Regions from separate parts of the Homo sapiens genome. Here region 1 is linked to region 2. The links are contacts of gene promoters, found by promoter capture Hi-C in blood cells and fetal thymus (Javierre and others, 2016). All regions are on one chromosome and are shown on one strand. The core of a region is centred on a gene start or on the middle of the fragment in contact, and the rest is flanking DNA. Distances in the headings are between cores, read along the strand shown. Region 1 has its middle 58 kb from the start of LINC01946. Region 2 holds the start of YIPF4 (Yip1 domain family member 4).

Region 1 (4,426 bases), core at 628-3,127, 420 kb before region 2:
AATGTCTGGCCTGTAATCCTTGAGATTAACAGAGCAGGGGAAATGTTGTGAAACAGATTTAAAAATGTTAAAGTACAATACATTAAATAAATAAGGTGTTTTCATTCATGTCCTAAAAAGTCAAAGGTGGAAAGACCCTTAGAAGTAATATTATTCAATTCTAACTCACATTAATAAAGAAATAAACTCTAATCTAGAAAGGAAGAGTGACTCGTTCTAGCAAACCAGTAGCAACTCACCAGCAAAGTTGTAAACAGATTCTAGTCCAGAATTTCTAACACTCCATAAGTATCTTTTTACTTGAGAGTTGGCTGGACATGTCATTGGGCATGCAGCTAAAGCACATTTTATTTAACTTTAAAAAATTTTTCAACACCTTCAAGTAATGGTAAACACCATCGGACATTGCCAAATATGAGCTAGGAATCATGGGCCAACAGGTTCAATTGTACCAGATAACTTACATTACAATTTATTTCATTTAGCATCAAATATACAGCCTAGGAATATTAAATTCTACCCTACCTTAAAGTTACTGAGGACAATGATTTCCATAATCATTGAAAATGAAAAAAGCCAATTAAAAGATGCTTCCAGTGAAAAGGTTTATGCTTTCCTGACCTTTAGAAAACACTTCACATGAAGATTATCTTTTGTTCTCCTTCCTTCAAAATTCAATTCATTGAAACTGAACAAACAGCAACTGAATATCTATTCTGTGCTAAATTCAAATTGATAATAATTTTTTTTTCTTGAGACAGTCTCGCTCTGTCACCCAGACTGGAGTCTGTGGTGGTGCAATCTCAGTTCACAGCAACTTCCGCCTCTCGGGCTCAAGCGATCCTCTCACCTCAACCTCCTGAGTAGCTGAGAGTACAGGTGCATGCTGCCACACCTGGCTCATTTTTTAATTTTAATTTTAATTTTTTTTTTTTTGTAGAGACGCGGTCTCACTATATTGCTCAGGCTGGTCTCAAACTCCTGGACTCAAGCAGTCCTCCCACCTCAGCCTCCCAAAGTGCTGGGATTACAGGCATGAGCCACCGTGTCTGGCCAAATAAAAAATTTTAAATGAAAAAAAAATTCTCAGAAAAAAACTTCCATTTATAAAATAGTTAACAATACTTTTATTAAGTCAAATTCAAGTCTAAGGATTTAATGTTTAAAAACTCGCAAAACTTAGTATGATCTAATTTTTGTTTTCATCGTTTTACTACTTTCTACTAAAATGTAACATCACATTCACTAATTCAGAATATCAGACAAAAATATTAAAATTTTTTCAGAAGTTTACAAAGACCAATTTAAAGATTAAAATTTTTAATTTTATTAGATGTAGTCAAATTAAAAAATTTTTAAAGTTAAATAAAATGTGCTTTCGCTGCATGCCCAATGAATTCAATCCTGCTTATAGTTGCCTCTCTTGGCCTTCAATAGCTTAATAACGGTGTTTAGATTCTCTTTGGTTTCATTATTAGGATGACAGGGAAAAAATATGACTACATCTAATAAAATTACAAACTGAACTTTGCAGTGAGAAATGTTCATTTGAACATAATTTACAATTAATAATAAAAAAACAACTGCATTATAGCATACCTTTCAAACTCAGACAAACTGGCTTTTAAAATTCTTTTCATTATTTTTATAGTGATTGCCAAAATTTTGCATTAGAATTAAATACATGTGCGCACGCACGCGCGCGCGCGCACACACACACACACACACACACACACACAGAGTACACACACATACACAGTAAATGTGATACATCCTGGATACAAACCACTCTGGAATCATCAGAGAACCCTAGAATAAATGACAAATCTGAAACTCCAAAGTTCTTTACATAGTACTAATGAATACTTGAAGACAGGATAGGCAAACAAATCCATCCTCAACAGTGACTTTAAAGAGGTAGAGGTTCCAGTTATCAGCATTACTTGAGAGAGCTTTGTCAAAATGTGTAGCATAGCTATAGATGACAGTATGCCATGCCACTCAGCTGTATGTACTGGTATGTGGTGGGATACTAGAACAGGAAGTAGATAGGAAAACGTCTTATGTGACAGCTGCTCCAGGTTATCCTAATATTTTGACATTAATAGGTATAAAAAAACCAGTCCTTCAAGTTCCTTTTCTGCCAACTGATATGGCTGTGTTTTAGATTGAAAAAGCAGCTCTGTTTAATTGAGTCATTCATTCAAAGACCAACTTTATTTTAGGAAATGGTAGAACTCTGCCCTATATTTAAATGTTTTAACTAAAACAGAATAATTAATTATTCTAAGGTTCCCCCAGTAACTGGTACACCAGTGTTACCCTAGTAACAATAAAGCAATAATCATCAATTTATAATCTCTGTGTTTAAAGTTAGTGTTAAATGGTCAAAATCAATTTTGATTTAAAAATAACTTCTCAACAGTTTTATACAAATAAGTTCCATTTTACTTGTATACTAGCTTTTTTTAGCTTGGTGATCATAATTACACATCTCTAGGTGATACTGATGTTGATAGTCCAGGGACTCTACTTCGATAATCACCAATCTAGCTTTTATCTGAATACTTCTAATGCTTTTATGAGGACAAAGTAAAATTCTCATTATTAGAAATTCTCATTATACAAGGCGAGTGGATCTCTTGAGCCCAGGAGTTTGAGACCAACCTGGGTAACATGGTGAAACCCTGTCTTGAAAGAAAGAGACAGAGAGAGAGAGAAATGGGATTGGGGGGAGGTGGGGAGGGAGGGAGGGAGGGAGGGAGGGAGGAAGGAAGAAAAGAAAGAAAAGAGGGAAAAAGGAGGAAAGAAAGAAAAGAAAGGGAAAAAGGAGGAAAGAAAGAAAGAGGCTGGGTGCAGTGGCTCACACTTGTAATACTAGCACTTTGGGAGGCCGAGGCAGGCAGATCACCTGAGGTCAGGAGTTCAAGACCAGCCTGGCTAACATGGCGAAACCCCGTTTCTACTAAAAATACAAAAATTAGCCAGGTATGGTGGCGGGCGCCTGTAATCCCAGCTACTCAGGAGGCTGAGGCAGGAGAATTGCTTGAACCTGGGAGGCAGAGGTTGCAGTGAGCAGAGATCATGCCACTGCACTCCAGCCTGGGGCAACAGAGCGAGACTGGGGGAGAGGCGGGGAAAGAGAGGGAGGGGAGGGGGAGGGGGAAGGGGAGGGATAGGGAACGGGGAGGGGAAGGGGAAGGGAGAGAAAAGGGAGGGGAAAGGGAGGAAGGAAAAGGAAAGGAAAGAATTCTCATTAGAGAATATTCAACGTAAAACCAGAAGCTCCCATTTCTTATAATTTTTCTACCCAGAACAACACAGAACAAATACTATTCTTTCTCATATATGAAGGTCACTCAATCTGAAGAAAACTCCCTATCTTTAAACTTACCTTCTCAAAAATAAGACTCACCAATTTCTTCAACCACATCTCACTCTCTAGACTATCAAAGCCTTTTATCATTCCTTATAGACACTATAGTTCTTAGTGTCCCCTTTAATACATGGCACTTACAATTTAACACAATAAAAACGTCTTAAATCTCAGTAACAGTGTACATGTGGCTTATTAATCTACTAGTCAATATCAGCTTTGTAAGTACACTAGTTCTTTCAACAACTGTATTATAGCACTTCCCAAATGCCAGTCTATGGACTAATTAACTCGATAAATTTTTCAGTGATGCAGAGTAAATGAGAAAATACCAGTGTAGTAATTTTTTCATTAACTTAAAGTTATTCAAGTTAAATTACTCTATTACTCTGAGTTTAAGTCCTTCCTAAATATTGGGAGTCACTTTTAAAATAAAATGGTAAGGGAAGATAGTAGTTGTCTTTTCAAAAGTCCTTACACGGCAAAATTAAGTTTTACATTTCACAGTCCTTTTTAAAAATGTTGGTCTAGTGTCCTAAAATACTCAGGTAAAAAGGTTCATCTGATCTAGCTTCTGCTATCATCTAGGTAGCCAAGCACTTAGAATAATTTAAAGAATTTGCAACAACCAATCACAAGCTCCACCGATCACTTTTTTGATTAGTTTATTGCAGCAAAGTAAACCTCCCAATGGATTCCAGCAAATAAAAGGGCTTCAAAGTTATTCAACACTAATTTCCAAGACTTCTTAGTTTCCCATACCCATTTCCCACTTACCTTTATGATCCTAAATAACACTCCAACCAGTCAATCTGACTACATCAAAATAAGACAGGATTGTGATGGCAAAAACTTACCACCGCTTTTTGCAGTTTAGATTATTTGCCAACTTTTGAACTACAAACGGCACCATCTATGACAGGAGACAGCAAATTATGGCCCACAGGCCAAATCCAGCTCACCATCTTTGTGTAAATAAACTTTTATTAGAACACATTCACATTCATTTGATTACACATTGTCTATGGTGGCTTTTGTGCTACAATTGCA
Region 2 (4,535 bases), core at 1,728-4,227:
TGGCTGCCAGCGCGGTGGCTCACGCCTGTAATCCCAGCACTGTGGGAGGCCGAGGTGGGTGGATCATGAGGTCAGGAGTTCAAGGCCAGCCTGGCCAAGATAGTGAAACTCTGTCTGTCCTAAAAATACAAAAAATTAGCCGAGCTCAGTGGCAGGCGCTTGTAATCCCAGCTAGTCGGGAGGCTGAGGCATGAGAATCACTTGAACTCAGTTGCAGTGAGCCGAGATCGCGCCACCGCACTCCAGCCTGGGCAACAGAGTGAGACTGTCTCAAAAAAAATAAAAGAATGAATTGGCCAATGGTATGGCCTACAAGTCCTTATGTATTGACTCAACAATATGCTTAAATAAATCCTGGAAGCTTTCAATTCGGTTTTTCTGAGTTATTGCCCTTTCATCTAAGTGTGCACAACATCAGGTTCCTGGCTGTAAATACAATGTTAATCAAATGGGGTTTATTTACCTTCAAACTACAGTTTGTTACATTATATTCTTCTTTCACTAGTATTAATTCAAAATTAAAGACATCTCCTTTCATTCACGTCGTGTCTCTTCCACCCACTCAGGATTCTGTCCATTTTTCTAGTACTTAGAAATATCATCATTTAGTTAAAACAAATAACATGAAATTTAAAACAATAAAATATGTGTCACCTGAAGGGGTGGGTTGCCCCTCCACACCTGTGGGTGTTTCTCGTTAGGTGGAACGAGAGACTTGGAAAAGAAAAAGACACAGAGACAAAGTATAGAGAAAGAAATAAGGGAGCCCAGGGGACCAGCGTTCAGCATACGGAGGATCCTGCCAGCCTCTGAGTTCCCTTAGTATTTATTGATCATTCTTAGGTGTTTCTCAGAGACGGGGATGTGGCAGGGTCATAGGATAATAGTGGAGAGAAGGTCAGCAGATAAACACGTGAACAAAGGTCTCTGCATCATAGACAAGGTAAAGAATTAAGTGCTGTGCTTTAGATATGCATACACATAAATATCTCAATGCCTTACAGAGCAGTATTGTTGCCCGCATGGCCCACCTCCAGCCCTAAGGCAGTTTTCCCCTATCTCAGTAGATGGAACATACAATCGGGTTTTATACCAAGACATTCCATTGCCCAGGGATGGGCAGGAGACAGATGCCTTCCTCTTGTCTCAACTGCAAAGAGGCATGCCTTCCTCTTATACTAATCCTCCTCAGCACAGACCCTTTACGGGTGTCGGGTTGGAGGACGGTCAGGTCTTTCCCTTCCTACGAGGCCATATTTCAGACTATCACATGGGGAGAAACCTTGGACAACACCTGGCTTTCCTAGGCAGAGGTACCTGCGGCCTTCCGCAGTGTTTGTGTCCCTGGGTACTTGAGATTAGGGAGTGGTGATGACTCTTAAGGAGCATGCCGCCTTCCAGCATCTGTTTAACAAAGCACATCTAGCACAGCCCTTAATCCATTTAACCGTGAGTTGACACAGCACATGTTTCAGAGAGTTCGGGTTTGGGGCTAAGGTTATAGATTAACAGCATCTCAAGGCAGAAGAATTTGTCTTAGTACAGAACAAAATGGAGTCTCCTATGTCTACTTCTTCCTACACAGACACAGTAACAATCTGATCTCTCTTTCTTTTCCCCACAATCACCCATCAAATTGGCATGTTTTAAAAAATGGTTATATTCGGGCTGGGTGCAGTGGCTCACGCCGGTAATCTCAGCATTTTGGGAGGCCAAGGCAGGCAGACCACAAGGTCAGGAGATCGAGACCATCCTGACTAACATGGTGAAACCCCGTCTCTGCTAAAAATACAAAAAATTACCCAGGCGTGGTGGCAGGCACCTGTAGTCCCAGCTACTCGGGAGGCTGAGGCAGGAGAATCGCTTGAACCCTGGAGGCGGAGGTTGCAGTGAGCCGAGATCGCGCCACTGCACTCCATCCTGTCGACAGAATGAGACTCCGTCTCAAAAATAAATAAATAAATAAATAAATATTAGCCAAACATGGTGGCAGGGGGCTTGTAGTCCCAGCTACTTAGATAGCTGAGTTGGGAGGACTGCCTGAGCCCAGGAGTGTGAGGTTACAAGGAGCTATTACTGCACCACTGCACTCCAGCCTGGGTAACGGAGCGACCTTGTCTCTAAAACAAACAAAACCACTACATTTACTCATCCTTTAAGTACCAACATGTTACCTCCTGTGAGAAAATTTTCCAGAAATACCATTTAACACACTAATAGACATGTCTCTCGATTGCTCTATTGCTGATCAATTGTGTATTTCTCCAAGTTGGCCTCCTAATATACCCCAACCCCTCTTTCTTCAAGTTGGAAGCCACATTTATGTAGCTTGAATATTAAAGTTACGTATGTAAACATTTAAAAGCAGGTGAGTTTGTTAACTTCGGCAAGCTTATCAGTAGACAGGGCCTTCCAGTGAAAAGAGCACTTGACTAGAAATTAGGAGATTTAGGTACTGTCCTAAATCTGTTTCTACCTTACTTTCTCTGGCCTCAGTTTTCTCCCTCATAAAGGAATGTATCTACAGCCCTAGTCTCTGGGTGGCGATTTACGGCTTCTCTGCCTTTTATCTTCATTCTCCGATCCATCCCTCTTCATCTTACAGGTGAGGAAACTGCCATCCAGACATTACATATAACTTAGTCAAGATCCTACACTATTAATTAATGGCTAATGGCAAGGGAATCTTGAGATCCTGTACGGCGGCTGACCCATAAAATCTACCTAGTTCTAAAATTCTTTAACCCACCCACTTAACAAAAACGGAGGTAATAGGTAAACAAAACGCCAGGAAAGATCGCACTTAAAGGAACAAAAGCACCCAAGGAGGAAAAAGAGGCCTGAGATTTCCACGAATTACAAGTGAACTTCCTGTCCTGGGTAAACTTCCGGAATCAACAACAGGAAGACCCAATCAGAATCTTCCTCCGGGAGCCAATGGGAGAGCACATTACAAAGAGCCAATCCCAGCGCCGCTGTCACTGTTATGGTCCTGTCAGGGTGCCGGCGTCGTGGTGCTTGGGTGGTCGCCACCAAGAAGACTTTGGTGGGGTAGTCTCGGGGCAGCTCAGCGGCCCGCTGTGCCCGTTTCTGGCCTCGCTCGCAGCTTGCACGTCGAGACTCGTAGGCCGCACCGTAGGGCGAGCGTGCGGGTCGCCGCCGCGGCCGCCTCGGGGTCTGGGCCCAGCCGCAGCCTCTTCTACCGCGGCCGGTTGGGAGTCGCCGCGAGATGCAGCCTCCGGGCCCGCCCCCGGCCTATGCCCCCACTAACGGGGACTTCACCTTTGTCTCCTCAGCAGACGCGGAAGGTGAGGCTGAGCCCCTGGAAGGGCTATCACCCGGAGGAAGCCAGGGCCCGACGCCGTAGGGTCTTTCTGGTGCCGAGGTGGTCGTGGCCGGGTGGGGACAGGCAGGAAGCTGACTGGTGACTGCAGCCCACCACGCCTGCCGGGCCTTCCGAGAGGCCCCGAAGGACGGAGGGAGGGGTGTAGGGAGCTGCTTTTTAAAGCATCAAGTTACTCGGTCAGCCCTTGGTTTTCCCCATACCGTCTGGTGGCTGGTTTTTCTGGGTGGCTTAGTCTCTTCAATTGGACCCACAAAATCCTAAGCTTTTAGTTCTGGAATTACTCGCCCTTACTCAGAAAAAGGACAGATTGGCCAAGGGAGATCTCAAAGAATGAGAAAAAGGAAGGAGGGCTGTTTTCTTCTGTTATGTATCAACAGATAATTTTTTGGGGGGGGTCTGGGATCAGATTCGGCACTGCAAATACAAACTAAATGGTTTTTATTGAATTTGATGTCTTGCCCGAGTCCCCGTTTTCCTCGCATTTTGTAATGTTTCACCTCAGTATTCAGAGAAATTGACGCAGGTATATTGGAAGTTTAGTGTAAACCAACAATGTGTTTCCAGTAGCCTCTACAGATTTCCTTGTATTATTCTGAGGAAGCGATTGTGCTGGAGATATTTTCCTACAGCACAGGAGAATGTTTCCCTCCTATTCTCAGTTCCCTATCCAACTCATAACCTGGATATTATTCTGCTAGTCATTTTCAATTTTTTTTTTTTTCTTGAGCTCTGTCGCCCAGGCTGGAGTGCAGTGGCGCGATCTCGGCTCACTGCAAGCTCCGCCTCCCGGGTTCACGCCATTCTCCTGCCTCAGCCTCCCGAGTAGCTGGGGCTACAGGCACCCGCCACCACCCCCGACTAATTTTTTTTGTATTTTTAGTAGAGATGAGGTTTCACCGTGTTAGCCATGATGGTCTCTCGATCTCCTGACCTCGTGATCCGCCCGCCTCGGCCTCCCAAAGTGCTGGGATTACCGGCGTGAGCCACCGCGCCCCGGCCATTTTCAAATTTTTATTACACTTCGTGCACCAGTTATTTTCCAGTGACCAGACTTACTGGCTGCTATGAAATCATAAATTATGTTTACAGAAATTTCAGTCTGAGAAAGAACCTAGATTTTCCTTTTTTTTTTTTTTTTTTTTTGAGACTGAGTCTCGCTCTGTCGCCCAGGCTGGAGTGCAGTGATGCC

The links. The method cuts DNA at HindIII sites, captures the fragments that hold promoters and counts their contacts. A CHiCAGO score of 5 or more calls a contact.
Region 1: a fragment that was not itself captured here is called in contact with the fragment with the promoter of YIPF4 in region 2 in 1 of 17 cell types (total CD4 T cells); the score reaches 5.0 in total CD4 T cells.

What each region holds. Positions count from the first base shown.
Region 1 is chr2:31,860,205-31,864,630 of GRCh38, forward strand. No RefSeq gene overlaps it. Among named protein-coding and RNA genes, the nearest start is that of LINC01946, 58 kb to the left of the region's middle. The HindIII fragment of the contact is 6,102 bases long and covers 1-4,426 here.
Region 2 is chr2:32,274,927-32,279,461 of GRCh38, forward strand. YIPF4 (Yip1 domain family member 4) reads left to right here and starts at 2,978. Exons shown (of 6, transcript NM_032312.4): 1 at 2,978-3,308. The coding sequence starts at 3,230. RefSeq lists an enhancer at 2,093-2,838 and a silencer at 3,076-3,185. The HindIII fragment of the contact is 1,217 bases long and covers 2,390-3,606 here.